Regions from separate parts of the Homo sapiens genome. Here regions 2 and 3 are each linked to region 1. The links are contacts of gene promoters, found by promoter capture Hi-C in blood cells and fetal thymus (Javierre and others, 2016). All regions are on one chromosome and are shown on one strand. The core of a region is centred on a gene start or on the middle of the fragment in contact, and the rest is flanking DNA. Distances in the headings are between cores, read along the strand shown. Region 1 holds the start of CCND1 (cyclin D1). Region 2 overlaps LINC02952 (long intergenic non-protein coding RNA 2952). Region 3 has its middle 14 kb from the start of LINC02747.

What was found. The method cuts DNA at HindIII sites, captures the fragments that hold promoters and counts their contacts. A CHiCAGO score of 5 or more calls a contact.
Region 2: a fragment that was not itself captured here is called in contact with the fragment with the promoter of CCND1 in region 1 in 2 of 17 cell types (endothelial precursors and M1 macrophages); the score reaches 5.7 in endothelial precursors.
Region 3: a fragment that was not itself captured here is called in contact with the fragment with the promoter of CCND1 in region 1 in 1 of 17 cell types (M1 macrophages); the score reaches 6.3 in M1 macrophages.

What each region holds. Positions count from the first base shown.
Region 1 is chr11:69,639,116-69,643,968 of GRCh38, reverse strand. It overlaps CCND1 (cyclin D1), which reads right to left and starts at 2,813. Exons shown (of 5, transcript NM_053056.3): 1 at 2,458-2,813; 2 at 723-938; 3 at 1-137. The coding sequence starts at 2,655. RefSeq lists enhancers at 1-321, 1,840-2,542, 4,050-4,853 and silencers at 538-797, 928-987, 1,078-1,217. The HindIII fragment of the contact is 14,749 bases long and covers 1-4,853 here.
Region 2 is chr11:69,439,318-69,444,170 of GRCh38, reverse strand. The region is part of intron 1 of LINC02952 (long intergenic non-protein coding RNA 2952); the gene reads left to right. Among named protein-coding and RNA genes, the nearest start is that of LINC02952, 3.2 kb to the left of the region's middle. RefSeq lists a silencer at 512-601 and enhancers at 2,860-3,049, 4,623-4,853. The HindIII fragment of the contact is 1,470 bases long and covers 1,601-3,070 here.
Region 3 is chr11:69,463,276-69,468,128 of GRCh38, reverse strand. No RefSeq gene overlaps it. Among named protein-coding and RNA genes, the nearest start is that of LINC02747, 14 kb to the left of the region's middle. RefSeq lists an enhancer at 3,711-4,444. The HindIII fragment of the contact is 229 bases long and covers 2,038-2,266 here.

The DNA.
Region 1 (4,853 bases), core at 1,564-4,063:
GTCTGCGCGTGTTTGCGGATGATCTGTTTGTTCTCCTCCGCCTCTGGCATTTTGGAGAGGAAGTGTTCAATGAAATCGTGCGGGGTCATTGCGGCCAGGTTCCACTTGAGCTTGTTCACCAGGAGCAGCTCCATTTGCTGCGAACACAGGGTGAGCGGCCATCAGGGGAGGTGCGGGCCAGCCCGGGGGCGCGGGGAAGCCGGCAGCACGGGGGCCGGGCCACGCCGCACCTCCGGCTCAGAGCACTGGCCCCTGCGTCTCGTGCGGTCCTGGATGTTGGAGGGGAGGGCTGGCGAATGCTGGGGACTCAAGGGAGCTGGGGCAACACGCAATCCCAGATCAAAACAGAAAAGGCGCCCGCCGCGTGAAAAGACTCTGCAAGTGGAAACAAAAAGACCTCCCACCACCTGGAACTGGAGGCTCAGCGCCGAGCGCGGCGCTCCTCGTGCAGCCGCTGGAGGGCGCGCGCCGCCCACTTTTCGGCCACACCGCGGGGCGCGAACGCGGTGGGAGTCGCAGGCAAGCGCACACAGGGCGGCGGGACGAGGGCGGCTAGGATCCCGCCCGCTCCCCGGACAGGGACGCCCGGCGGCGGGGCCGCCCTCCCTCGGAGGAGCAGATATGTCAGAGGCGGGCCGGCCGCCACCGCCTGCACCTTCCCCGGCCCCGTGGTCCTGCGTGCGGCTCGCGGGGGGCGGGGGGCGGCGGGGTCCAGTGGTTACCAGCAGCTCCTCGGGCCGGATGGAGTTGTCGGTGTAGATGCACAGCTTCTCGGCCGTCAGGGGGATGGTCTCCTTCATCTTAGAGGCCACGAACATGCAAGTGGCCCCCAGCAGCTGCAGGCGGCTCTTTTTCACGGGCTCCAGCGACAGGAAGCGGTCCAGGTAGTTCATGGCCAGCGGGAAGACCTCCTCCTCGCACTTCTGTTCCTCGCAGACCTACGGAGGCACGGGGCCCGTGACCGCCGCCGCCAGGTCGCGCCGCCCCCCCGCACGCCCCCGCACCCCCCATCGCGCTTGGCAGGGCCGCCAGGTCTGGAGGGCGCCGAGGGGTCGGGGCTGGGGGCGGCAGGAGCTTCCCGTGATGCGCCCCCTCCCCCGCGCGTCCCCAGTACCCACCCTCCCCGAAACTGAAAGGGAAAGTCCCCGCGAGGCTGGCACGGTGGGGGCGGGAGCGGGCACAGCTGGGCGGCGTGCGCGGCGGCGCGGGCTGCCGGCCCCCGGGACCCTGGCCCGCCCTGGAGCTCCGTGGTCCCTCTGACTGGGGGTCGACACCAACTGGGGTGCGGGGCCGCGGAACGGGCCGCGGGGTTGGGCGCCGCGCCTGCGAGACACAAAGGTGGCGTCCCAGGCCGCCGCGCCGCATTTCCCCAGACGTCATCTTTTCAAAAAATATTTAAAAATATTAAAAAAATAACTAAGTGCATAAAAAAACCCTGAAAATGACCCTCGGGCGACCCTTTACCCAGGCCGGGGGTTGGGAGTTCGTTACAGGCTCCGGGGGGAGCCCCAGGAATTCAAACTCCGGGGCCCCCCCTTCCCCCTGGGCGCGGGCGGCGTTTCCCTCTCGCAAGGGCACCACGCCGCACTTTCAAAAATTATTTTAAAATACTTGCGGGCCCCTCAGGCGCCCACCGAAGGTCTGAAAATGTGCTCCCAGGCCCCCGGCTCGCTCGGAGAAGGTCCTCCAAGCCGATATCCCTGCAGACGGGGATCAAGCCCTGGCGTCTTGGGGGCCACGCGACCTTGCAGCTCGCCGTGCTCTCCGGCCCAGGCTGCCCGTTCGGGGCGCCCCGGGACTCGCTGCTTGAACAAAGGCCCCCCCTTCCCTAGCGGCGTCCCCCCAAAACTACCCATGCCGCGTCCCTGCGCCCCTCCCGCGGGCTCCCGGCAGCCGCGCGGCCCTTAGCTGCGGCCCCAGCGCCCGGCGGCCGCTCCCCGCCCCCACCCTGCCCCCAATTATTAATAAACACTTTTGCTTTGCAATAAAAGAGCAAAGATGGCGCATAATACTGGCACGAGCGGCCCTTGCATACGTGTCCATGGATATTAATTTAAAAATCAAATCTATGCCCCCTCCCCCCGGAGTTGGCGGCTCCCGGCCGCTGAGGCGCAGCCGGGCTGGGGCGCAGGCGGGGGACACAAAGCGCACCCAGCCTGCCAGCCCGCACCCTCGGGCCCATTGGGGTGCCCCTGGCACTGGCTTCTCCCGAAGGCACCCCTCCCGGACCCCCTTCTCCCCTCCCACGAAACGCTACTTCTAGCACCCCCACCCCCACCCCTTCCTCCTTCAGAAAATACCCGCAATTTTTATTTTGAAAATACGGATCCCTAGAAACACCACGGCAAACTTCAAAGTTCTAGCGGGAGAGAAGGGAGGGGGGTGAGTAGCAAAGAAACGTGGGTCTGGGCAACAAGTTGCAGGGAAGTCTTAAGAGAGCCGCCCGAAGCCCCGCACCTCCAGCATCCAGGTGGCGACGATCTTCCGCATGGACGGCAGGACCTCCTTCTGCACACATTTGAAGTAGGACACCGAGGGCGCGCAGGTCTCCTCCGCCTTCAGCATGGCCCGCAGCACCCGGTCGTTGAGGAGGTTGGCATCGGGGTACGCGCGGCGGATGGTTTCCACTTCGCAGCACAGGAGCTGGTGTTCCATGGCTGGGGCTCTTCCTGGGCAGCTGGGGAGGGCTGTGGGTCCTGGCTGGGTCCGCGCTCGGCTCTCGCTTCTGCTGCCCCGCGCTCCCTCGCGCTCTTCTGCCCCTCGCCGGAGCGTGCGGACTCTGCTGCTCGCTGCTACTGCGCCGACAGCCCTCTGGAGGCTCCAGGACTTTGCAACTTCAACAAAACTCCCCTGTAGTCCGTGTGACGTTACTGTTGTTAAGCAAAGATCAAAGCCCGGCAGAGAATGGGAGCGGGAGGGGGGCGGGGGCGGGCGCAGGGGGAGGGGGCGCGGGCGCCAAACGCCGGGAGCAGCGAGGGGCAGAGCCCAAAAGCCATCCCTGAGGCGCCGCGCCTGCCCTGCGGCGGAGTTGCCCCTGTAGTCCGGTTTTCATAGAAATGCAAATCGCCCCGCTGCAGCCTTTCTCCCCGCCAGGGAAGAGGGGTGCAGGGGGCCCCGTCCGCCTCGAGTGGGTCCCCCGGGATTTAGGGGGTGAGGTGGAGGTGGCTCTGCAGTAGGGGACAACTAGGAAGGCCGGCAGGCCACACGCAGCCTGGGGAGACCACGAGAAGGGGTGACTGGGGCGCGGCGACACCCCATATCCAAGCCGGCAGAATGGGCGCATTTCCAAGAACGCCACGAGGGCACCCACGGGCGGACAGACGGCCAAAGAATCTCAGCGACTGCATCTTCTTTCATTTTCATTAACACGTGTAAATTGCAAGAACTAATTTAGCATGCAAGGACGGGGAGGACCGGGCACACAACCCCTGTGCAAGTTTCATTCCGGCGCACAGGGGCGTCGTTGCAAATGCCCAAGGGGGTAACCCTAAAAGTTAAAGGGATTTCAGCTTAGCATGCGCTCGCTCAAAAAATAAAATAAAATAAATGCCCGAAAATTCCAGCAGCAGCCCAAGATGGTGGCCAGCATTTCCTTCATCTTGTCCTTCTAGCCTGGAGACTCTTCGGGCTGCCTTCCTACCTTGACCAGTCGGTCCTTGCGGGGGTCCCCAACTGCACCCCCTCCCTTCCCGTGCCGGCAATTTAACCGGGAGAAACACACCTCTGAATGGAAAGCTGAGAAACAGTGATCTCCATTCTGACTCATTTTTTTTAATTAAAAAAGAAATTAAATTGCTGGAAATATTAGTCCCCTCTGCCTGGGACAAGACCACCGAAGGTTCCTAATTGGTTTTGTTGGGGGTGTAGACGTCCCTTCACCTTTAGAATTTGCCCTGGGACTGAATTCGTGAGCGTGAGGGGGCTGGCAGGAGCCGGCATAATTCAGAACAATTATCAATTAAACAAACGAGTGTACTGATCTGATTTTTAGCAAAATCGATAGGTGTTCGTGGTTACATGAGAGGGTCCCCAATATTATCGCAAACTTAAGCAGATGTAAATTAAAATACACAGTTTTTAAAATTACAGGTTCTGTCTCTTTGGTGCATTAAAAAATAAAAGGACATTTTACTGTCTTAACTTTTGTTTTTATTTTTACAGTACCTGCCCCAAATTAAGAAAACTGTTCATTTACTTCCTTTTGAATATAGTTCAGTGTCATCAAACCACCGTACCCTCTTAACAGTAAAAGCTCAAAGAAAACTGATAGAAAAAGCCCTCTCCCCTTCGCCAGGGTGCTCACAGCAAGATGCGACCCCCCCCACCCCCACCTTTCAGGGTGAATTCCTCCCGCGCCCCCTCCCCCGCCGGGAATTAGGATTACTAATATTCCGGGTCCTGGGGGGGTAATTACCCCCGGATTCCGCATGGGGAGCGATGGGTTGCCCCAGCAGGGAGCACCTACGGTCGTGCCCCCCCCCACTCCCCGAGCACCCACAATCGCGTTGGCCCCCGCATAGCCAAGCCTCAGAGCATCAGCCCGCGCACAAGGGCGGCCCAGCTGCTTTTTCATTCATAAAATCCCGACCCGGCGGCCGCCTGGATGATTTATGGGGCCCGGAGCTATCACCCGGCCTCTCCCATCCCGTGGGGCGAGGGGCCCCGAGCCCCGCGTGCGCCCTGGCCCAGCCCGAGGCGCGAAGCGGGCCGAAGTCGGCTAGGGGCAGCAGGGCATAAAGAGGCTCGCCCACTCCGGCACAACCGGCTCTGGGTCCAGGAGGGAGCTTCACCCCCCCATCCCGGGCGCAAGACAGAGGAAACTGGAATTAGCATGAGCCAATGGGGGCGCGGCG
Region 2 (4,853 bases), core at 1,086-3,585, 200 kb after region 1:
ATTTCCCTTTTCAGAGAGCTGATGTGGAGGATTCTGCGCCGTTCTTGGCCATGCCGTCATCTGGGGCCCCAGGAACCTTACAGACCCGAGGGCCAGGGTTTGGGGCCCAGAGCCCAGCAGATAGCCATCTTAGAAGCATTCTCCCCAGGACCAGGGCTGCTAAACCCAACCCCACATCTCCCACACAAATGCGTCTTTCACTGGGGCTCTGGAAACCGGAGACCATGTAAATCCAAGAAGATGAAATTGTGTGGGTCTGGGCCGCAGCTACAGACTGAGACTCAGCAGCCGAGGGGCCCCAGCCTCAGAGGGAACTCAATGAATTTGTCAGGGAACTGAAAACAGATGATTTCAATCAGCAGGGGAAAAAAATGACTTCATGGCCACAGTTGACCGAAGCAAGCGGCGTTCGGCTGCCAGGCCCTGCCTGGGAGGCGCTTCCAGAAAGCCTGGCCTCTTCCGCAGCCTCTGGCCGGGGTCTTCCCTGCGAGGAGCCAGCGCCGCTCGAGCCGCAGCATGGCCCGGCAGAAGGCACGGCGGCCGTGATGGGGCTGGCGGGGCGCGGTGATAACCCGGGCTCCCCGCCCCCGCGCTTCCTCTCCGCTGCGCTTTCATGAATGGCCCCGCTTCCCAAACAGCCGATTGGCTGAACCCCCGGCCGCGACGCCCAATCAGCGGCTGTGGCCGCCTGGTCTCCGCTCCGCGTGGGGCCTCGGTCCTGCAGCCATGAATGGCGCAGCCTCAGCTGCCTGCAGCCACCGCCTACCTTGCGGGGGCCGCCTCCCCCCGAGGGAGGAGGAGCAGGGGATTTTTTCTTTCCCCCAGACTGTTCAGGGTTCTGGTGCAATTGTGTCAATCTGAGGCTTGGCTGGAGCTCCTGACAATAGCCCTTGGGCTTCCAAGGTTGACATTCAAGGTCTTGTGACAGTGAAAGGGCTTGCATAGTTAGAAATGAATTTCTTTGCCTATAGCCCGGGCTGATTCCAGTTCCAGGGAAAGAACGGCAGCCTTTCCGTGTAAGCAGGCAGCCCTGCTGGGGACAAAGACAGGGCCGTGGGAGGAGGTGGGGCCCCTTCCTGGCCAGTGCTGGGGGGGGCGGACACGTGCAAACTGCTGGGAACTTCGCCTGCAAACCAGAGGGCTTTGGCCACCCCTCTTGGTCACTGGCCTTGTCCTAGCTTCATATGCCACGTGCATGAAGCGGCTGGGGCCCCTGTCGGGGAACCCAGCCATTCCGCTGCATTTCCTGTTAAGTAGGAAAACATGTTCTGTTTGCTGATGTTATAAAGAAGGCATGTGTTTACAAATGCTCATTGGGGAGAGCGTGGTTAATGGGCCAGCTTCCGGCCTCACCTCCCCAGATGAAGTGATTGTGTGGCTGACAGAATGGGCCTGCTCTTCAGGGGAAGACCCCCTACTCGGGAAAATTAGACTCAGCAGAAGCCAGAATTCAAAGCTGTCTAGAAAGTGCTTTTGCAAGGTGGGTTGAGGCCAGGATGAGGAAGGCCTCGAATGCCAAAGTGAGGAGGTGTCCCAAGCCCTGGGGAGTCATGGAAGGCTGGTGAGATGCAGAGTGAGATTCCGGAGTGTTTCAGAAGCTTGACTCTTCCCCGGCAGGGACTTCTCTGCCAACACACCTACCCTGAGCATGGCTGGGGTGACCTTTTATGGAACTTCCAAATTAGAACTGTGCAAACAGCTTCCTGTGACCCCTTGATGAGCCCCATTTTAAAGATGAGAAAACTGAGGTTCAGAGTAATCTGCAAAGGGTCCCACAATTTGGGAGTGGCGAGACCAGGACTGGACCCTATCTCTGCCTGATGCCATAGGGGAAAGGCACACCCAGGTGCTGCACGCCCACAGGGACTGGTGTGAGGAGGCTTCAGCAAAAAAATGCGGGCAGATCACTAAACACTGGGGCAGGCACTGACTCATTGCTGCAGTGGTTAGGATCAGAACTGGTGAGAAATGTACCTGCTCCCAAATTTCTATGAGCCAGACTCTGGTCTCCCAGGTAGATTCGTGAGGCCATGAGTATGCAGCAGGGGGCGGCCTGACAAATTCATGTAGATTTCCAGTTGTAGCATCTATTTTTTTTTTCTTTTTTTTTGAGATGGAGTTTCGCTCTTGTTACCCAGGCTGGAGTGCAGTGGTGTGATCTCAGCTCACCGCAACCTCCGCCTCCCAGGCTCAAGTGATTCTCCTGCCTCAGCCTCCCAAGTAGCTGGGATTGCAGGCTTGCGCCATCACATCTGGCTAATTTCGTATTTTTAGTAGAGACGGGGTTTCTCCATGTTGGTCAGGCTGGTCTCAAACTCCTAACCTCAGGTGATCCGCCTGCCTTGAGATGGAGTCTCACTCTGTCGCCCAGGCTGGAGTGCAGTGGTGTGATCTCCATTCACTGCAACCTCCACCTCCTGGGTTCAAGCGATTCTTCTACCTCAGCCTCCTGAGTATCTGGGATTACAGGCATGCGCCACCACACCCAGCTAATTTTTGTATTTTTAGTAGAGACGGGGTTTCAACATGTTGGCCAGGCTGGTCTCAAACTCCTGACCTCAGTTGATCCACCCACCTCGGCCTCCTGGAGTTCTGGGATTACAGGCATGAGCCACCTTGCCTGGCCTGTAGCATCTATTTCTGCCAGCCTAATGCCCAGTATCTGTTTTTAACCTTCTAGTTCAGCAGTTTGTAAAATTTCTGGTCTTGGGACCCATTTGCCTCTTAAAAGTTATCGAGGACCCCAGAGAGATTTTGTTGATATGGGTTTTATCTACTGATATTTACTGAGTTAGAAATGAAAACATAGAAATTTGTAAAATGCATGATTCTGCAAGCATACATTCTGTTAGCTCTCAGAGTGACAGTGTCATCATGGGTCCTATGGCCTCTGGGAAACTCCACTGCACAGTCATGAGAGAATGAAGAGAGAATGAAAGGAAAAAAGACAATTCATGCCTCAGTGTCTTCATGAAATTAACTGCAACCTCTCAGACCTCCTGAAACCACACTTTGAGAACTGCTCTACAGAGAGCAGATTGAGCTGGGCGGCGGGTGCCTGGCGAAAGCTTCATTTCCCAGCCTTCTTGTGGCTAGGTCCGGCCATGCCATACCCTGGCTGAATGGACTGTGAGCCATCCTCCATGGTGCTGGGCAACATGATAGATCTGTGAGTGAAGGAGTCATTGCAGTGGCCACATCCTGCCTCTGACCAATGAGCTTTTCCCTTCTTCTCCGCCTTCCACAGGCTGGGGTATAAATGAGGCATGGGTCAATTTGGCCCTCGTAGACAGGGCAACCCTCAGGTGTGACAGAGCCTGGGTGACCAGTATCATGCTGCCATATTTGTTTTTTGTTTTTTGTTTGTTTGGTTTTTGTTGTTGTTGTTTTGGAGATGGAGTTTCGCTCTTGTTGCCCAGGCTAGAGTGCAATGGCGCGAACTCGGCTCACTGCAACCTCCGCCTCCCAGGTTCAAGCGATTCTCCTGCCTCAGCCTCCCAAGTAGCTGGGATTACAGGTGCCTGCCCCCACGCTCGGCTAATTTTTTGTATTTTTAGTAGAGATAAGGTTTCGCCATGTTGGCAGGCTGGCCTGGAACTCCTGACCTCAGGTAATTCACCTGCCTCAGCCGCCCAAAGTGCCGGGATTACAGGCGTGAGCCACCATGCCCAGCCCATGCTGCCATATTTGTCCTGGATTGACTATGTGGGCTCCTGTGGGAAAAAGAAATCAACAGCCAGGCTTCTGCTACTGTATTTTGCAGTCTTTGCTATAATAGCCTAACCAGAATCCTGATCAGTACATCATTCTTACACACCTGGCTTCCTGCTCTTATTATGCTTGCAAGAAGTTGGATGAACCATCCAGATAAGCCCTTGGGAGGAGCTGAGTCTTCAGATGGAAGCATGAGGTGGTGAAGCACCCCTGACAGATCATTCCTTTAACATGCGTTTATTGAGATATTCTTGCCATGAGTCCAACAGAGTCCAGGAGAGGAACATGAGGTCACAGCTGATGGGAGGAGGGGACGCTGGGATGGAGCTTGCCAGAGTGTCGGGGGCTGCCATACAAATCACCACACCCTGGGTGGTTTCCTACAGAAAGAGGCAGAAACGTACTCTTGCACAGTTCTGGAGGCTAGGAATGGAGATCCAGGTGTCAGCGGGGTTGGCGCCTCTGAGGGCTGTAAGGCAAAGAACCCATCCCTGGTTCCTCTCCTGGCTCTTCTGGTAGCTTCAGCCGCCCTTGGCGTTCCCTGGTTTGTGGCCTCATCGCTTCACCCTCTGCCTCCATCATCATGTGGCCTTGCTCTTCATGGGCCTCTCTGAGGAAAGCAAGAGGTGGGAGCAGTGGGCCTGGGCCGGGGTCAACAGCCAAGGTGTGGCCAAGGTCCACCCAAGGTCATTGGCTCCTTGCTCGGCCTCAAAGCCAGCTTGACGCAGCAGACCCTCTCCCCGGTCTCTCTTTGTCCTTTCTTCTTCTTATAAGGACACTTGTTATTGGATTTAGGGCCCACCCTAGTCCAGGATGATCTCATCTCAAGATCTTTTGCCTTCCCTGCATGCACAACGATTCCTTTTGCAAATAAGGTCACACTCACGGGTTTCCCTGGCCGTACTCTTTGGTGTTGCGGGGGCGAATGGGTGCAGCATTCAGCCACTCCAGGGCTCTAAGTAGGAGGGACAGGCAGAAGCCACCACCAGGACAACTGGAAGACTTCCTGGAGGAGGGGGTGCTAATTTGGGTCTTAAGGGGAGTCATTGCTGCGAGAAAGGGGAGTCCACGTGGGAAGCTCAGATGCAGGGAGGTGCAGGACCTTGGCAGGGTGTGGGGCCTCCAGGGGAAAGATGACA
Region 3 (4,853 bases), core at 903-3,402, 180 kb after region 1:
CCTCTAGCTGCTTCTTCCCAGTGCCCTCTCTCCTCTCTTCTGTCTGTGTTTGGGTCAATGTTCTAGTACCAGGGCAGAATGAGAATCTGGGTGGTGAGGTCAGGGCTGACGGCTTTCTTCAGGTCTAGAAGCTGAGACCAGCTCCCCTGAAATGTACACATCCCAGTGTCTGTCCGCCTGGGTCCTGGCAATGTGCCCACCTGGGCTCCAGGGCCCAGCCTCTGAGACTCCTCGGGGCCTCCCTGAAGGGCGGCTCTGACCCTGGCCTCTAACTCACCTTGCTTTGCTGACTCTCTAGATAAGGCCCCTCTGATCAGAAGCTCATTTTCATAAACCACAGCCACACTCCCTAACCCCACCGCACCGCCTACTCACGTAGGTCTCATGTCTTCCTAGACACCTTGACGCCTGGGCTGGATAATTCCTGCAATGGCCACTTTCCTTATTCATACATTGCAAGTTTCTTCCGTGGCATAGGTGGTCTTTGCTTCTTGGTCTCCTGTTATTGACTATTGTCCTATCATCCGGTCCTGGAAAACCCCAGGGGGAAGATGAGGATATGCTGTTTGTCCTGACCTTCCCTCGGCCTTTCTCTCTGCGTGAGGATTAGCCACAGGCATCCGCAAGGCAAAGGGTGCTTCTAAGGTGCTTGCATCCTAATCCTAATGAGAACCACTGTGCATGAGTGACCTTCCAGCAGAGCCAGCGAGAGGTGTTCTGCCCTGCCCTTCCCTAACCTGTGCCTGACATCACTTTCCCTGGCACTGAGCTGGATGTCCCCACTCCTCCCCAGGTCCCCAGCCCTCTCTCTTCCCTTCTCTCCACCAAAAGGCTAAAAAGATAAACTGCCTAAAGGCAAGGTTCCATTCACTTTTGCTTTAGCTTTTGTCAACTTTGGCAAACAATTGCACAGTGTCTCCTGGTTGTTCTGATGTCGTCTTTGTTCCCACTGAATTTGGTTTCTCCTCCAGGGCTCAGGTAAGATTGCACTCCTCACCAGCTCTGAGAGTGGGTGTGGTCACGGGACTTTTTTGACCAAGGGGGTGCAAGTGAAAGCAGTGTGTGTATCTTCTGGATGGAACTTTAAGAGCCAGTAAATGTTCACTCCTTCCACTGTCCCTGGTCCTCCTGAGATCTTAGAGCCCAGGCTGAGATTGAGCCTCCGAAAGCCTCTGCTCTAGACTGATGGGAAGAAAGGCCTGGGACTCTCACTTGCCACGGAGCGTGAGCAAAAAACAGACATTGTGGTTTAAGTCACTCAGCTTTGGGGAGGATGCTTTTTACTGTGGCATAACCCAGCCTATTCACCAGGCCTCTGCTGGCTGCCTGCATTTCTTAGTTTTTCCATTGTTTTTTTTTCTTGTCCTTTGTCCTTTTCTGTTGATTTATAGTATTTTTTTCCTTATATTAAAAATATTAAGTCTTATTAATGGAATTATTTTGTCACCAGCTGAAAATCTCCTTAAACAGGTGATTGGACCTAGGATTGGACTACTGCCAGAAAGAATGGCATAGATTCAATTGTTCCAAAACGTGAATTGTCATTTTTAGTAAACCTCTTTCAACATTTAGCCAACACAGCGCTAACAAGTCTGATTCGACTCATTGGGTTACCTGCGGGTACATGTTTCAGCTACTTTATCTCCAAGGTTCCTTCAGGAAGCCTCTGTATCCAAAGCTTGGTGTTCTGCTTCTGTTGGCCCCTAGAGCTCCTTAATTAATGATTTTTTTTTTTTTAATAATCAGGTTTGGCTGAAATTATTACAGCAGCCTTTCTCAATGAATAGGCTGTAGAACACAGTGCCATGAAACCAGCTCCTGAAAAACACTAGATCTGGAAAATAGGGTTTCATGGCCCAGAGTTTGGGGAACCGGGCACGAGAGCTGAGTCAGCATCTTTGGCTGTGAAAAATCTCTGCTTAATGTTGGCTGCCACGGGCTCCACAGCCTCTTTGCCATGGCATATCTTCTGGCGTGCCACTGACTCACACCATCATGAAATGAGCGCCATGCAGAACACAATCTTGGGGAAAAGCTTATCTAAGGAATAAAATTACAGGTCCAGATCACTTATATAACTGGCGCTTAGAAGAAGAGCCCACCCACATTATTTTTTGAGGACCCCCATGGCTGATGGTGAACCCCTGCTCTGAGGTGGGTGGCTTCCCTTCAGCCCCACGGCTTGTTGGGGGGCACCCTCCACCCAGCTGTCGCCTTGGGGTAAGGCTCCCCACGGAGCCACCCGAACTCGCTGCTGCTGGAAGCTTGCCAAACTGCGAGTCCTGCGCTTTGCCGGGAGGACAGGTAATCCACCTCCCCGGGAGTCAGTGTTCTCTAACTTGGCTGCACACGAGAATCACCTGGAGAGCCTGAAAAACTTTTCATGCCCAGACCGCACCCCGGACAGATTAGGTCAGAACTGGGGGTGGAACCCAGCGCCCAGTAACTTTGTAAACTCCCAGGTGATTGCAGCTTGCAGCCAAGTCTGAGCACCAGGCTCCAAGTGGGTGCTTCTGTAACTTAGTTCCAACTGGAAGGAGGGCAGGAGCGGGGGACGGGGACTTTGCAGAATCTTGTGGGATTCTGCAAAGTCCCCATCCCCATGGGAGTTGCAAGGTTTGGATTCCACTATGCCTCACCCTCGAAGCTGTGCTCAAGCCTCTTCAGGCGCAGCCACCAGACAGCTGCAGGCCCCTCTACCTCAGCTTATCCCTTGCAGGGGGCCTGAGCCAACCTCTTGTCCCCAGGGATGCTATGATTAAAATGGGCCAGAGGCATCCCTGTGTGTGTGCTGGGACACTGTCCAGTTGCTATTCATGCTGACACTGTCAACATGATCCTGATAAGAAGTTCCTCTTCTTTTTCAGAAGTAGCTGTAGCCCAGTGTCTCCCAGCAGCTTGTTAGTTTTATCCCATGCTCCTTGTAAATTCAAAGGCAGGGTGTGTTTTCCTTTTCACATTGGCTGCCGGGGAACTCAGAGTCAATTTTACTACTACATCACACAGTACACATTGAGGACTTAGGGCATATATTTTGACTTCTGCTTCATCTTATGTTTTCCTCACCTACTAAAAATCACATTGTATTGTGTGCATTTTTGTAATTTTGTAAGCCTCCTAGAATCTTCTTTTTGTGACAAAGTAGGTACGTAAAGTCACAAATCCACAAATAAAAGACAGGCTTCTTTTCTCTAGTTGCTCTTTGGTTGCAGAGTTGTTAGCTCCTCTCTCTTTGCATACGGCGCTGCTCCGGCCCCACCCATCACCCACTCAGCAGTGGCTCCAGCACAGCTCCATCTCCCACAGCCCCTGGCTGGGCCTCCCGGTGGTCTGTGGGCTCCTGGTCCCATCACATGGAGGACTTCACCCTGCCCTCTCCCCAGTCCTCCCTCTTTCGGAAACCTTTCCTGGTGAGACTTGCTGCCAGGTAGAGCCACACCTATGTTGTTTCATGGCTTAGTGGCAGTTGGTCCACAAAACTCTCCCTTCCACCCAATGGCAAGGTTCAGGTTGGTAGCAGCCCACTCTTATTTCTCTCTGTACCCCCCGGGTGGGGTCCCAGGCACAGGGCATGAGCCCTGTGGGGCACCAGGGAGTTGTCTGCTGAGCGGCTTCAGAGTCTCCAAGAGGCTGTGTCCCTCAAAAGTCGGTTCTATGCTGGGTGGGGGACTGTGGGCAGCCTGGCAACCCCAGGTGTGGTGGGATTGATGATGCTCCCAGATGGCACAGGTTATGAACTGTCCTGGCTCCACCCGGGCCCTGCTGCTTAGGAGCTGTGTGACTCCGGGTGACTTCCTTGCCCTCTCCGTGCCTTCCTTTTCTCATAAACAAAATGGGTAAAGAGAGTAGGCTTTTTATGGGGAGAGAACAAGAAAGGGCAGATAAAGCCCAGGGAACCAGCGCAGCCTCTGCTACCCTTAGGATTCTGCAGGGGCAGAAGACTCTCTGCTCCTTAGAGGCTGGGCAGGCAGAGGCCCCTGGGGTTGTCTGTACTCCAGGAGTGGGAATAGCCACAGGCTGAGACAAATTGCAGAATGGTCTCGGGAACCAGGCGCCTGCTGTGTGCCGGGGCCAGCCACAGATCCCTGCGGGGCCTCTGTTTCCCCACCTGCCCTGCTGGGGGGAGTGGGACTGGCCCTGCAGGAGGGTGAGGCTGAGGCCAGAAGGGAAGAAGTGAAGCCTTGAAGCTGTGCCGGCCCCCAGCAGCTGGCCTGTGTGTGATGATTTGGGGCGGGGGGATGGCTCTGGGGGTTTCTGGCTTCAGCCCTCTAGGCTTCCCCTCCTGGTGCCCAGCCTGACCTCTGTTGTGGAGGACCAGGCTCCTAGTCTGGAACCCCAGAAGCCAGCGTGGACCCGGGTCCGCCACTGAACTGGAGGCAGGCTGGCCTGGCCCTGAGCTGTTAGCTGTCGGGGCAGCTGGCTCCAGAGGTTGTTGCCATGGAAACCCAGACTGATGTTCTCCTAAACAGCTCAATTATTTGTGGTTTTTCTGTTGAAGATCCCAGCTAAGCAGGCCAGGACGGTGGCTGGGGTGGGATGGGGGCTGCAGGGCTGCTCAAGGAGGGAGTCCCCTGAGAAGGCCCTCAGCCCTGCCTTAGCCAATCCTTAGGGAAATGGTCCAAAGTCACTGAGATTTTGGGAGAGGGAGGAAGGGTGTGTTTGGAAAAAATGTGCTGAGGTCATCAGGCTTGTTTCCAGAAAAGCTTCTGTGGGAGGGTGTGGGTCCAGCATGCTCCTTAGAAGGAACTGGGGAGGTTTCCCACCAGCCACGGTGCCTGTGCCCAGCCCCACCGGCTGGCATTCGGTGCGGGTGAACTCAGAGAGGTGCCCCATGGGGCACTCAGCCCATGTGC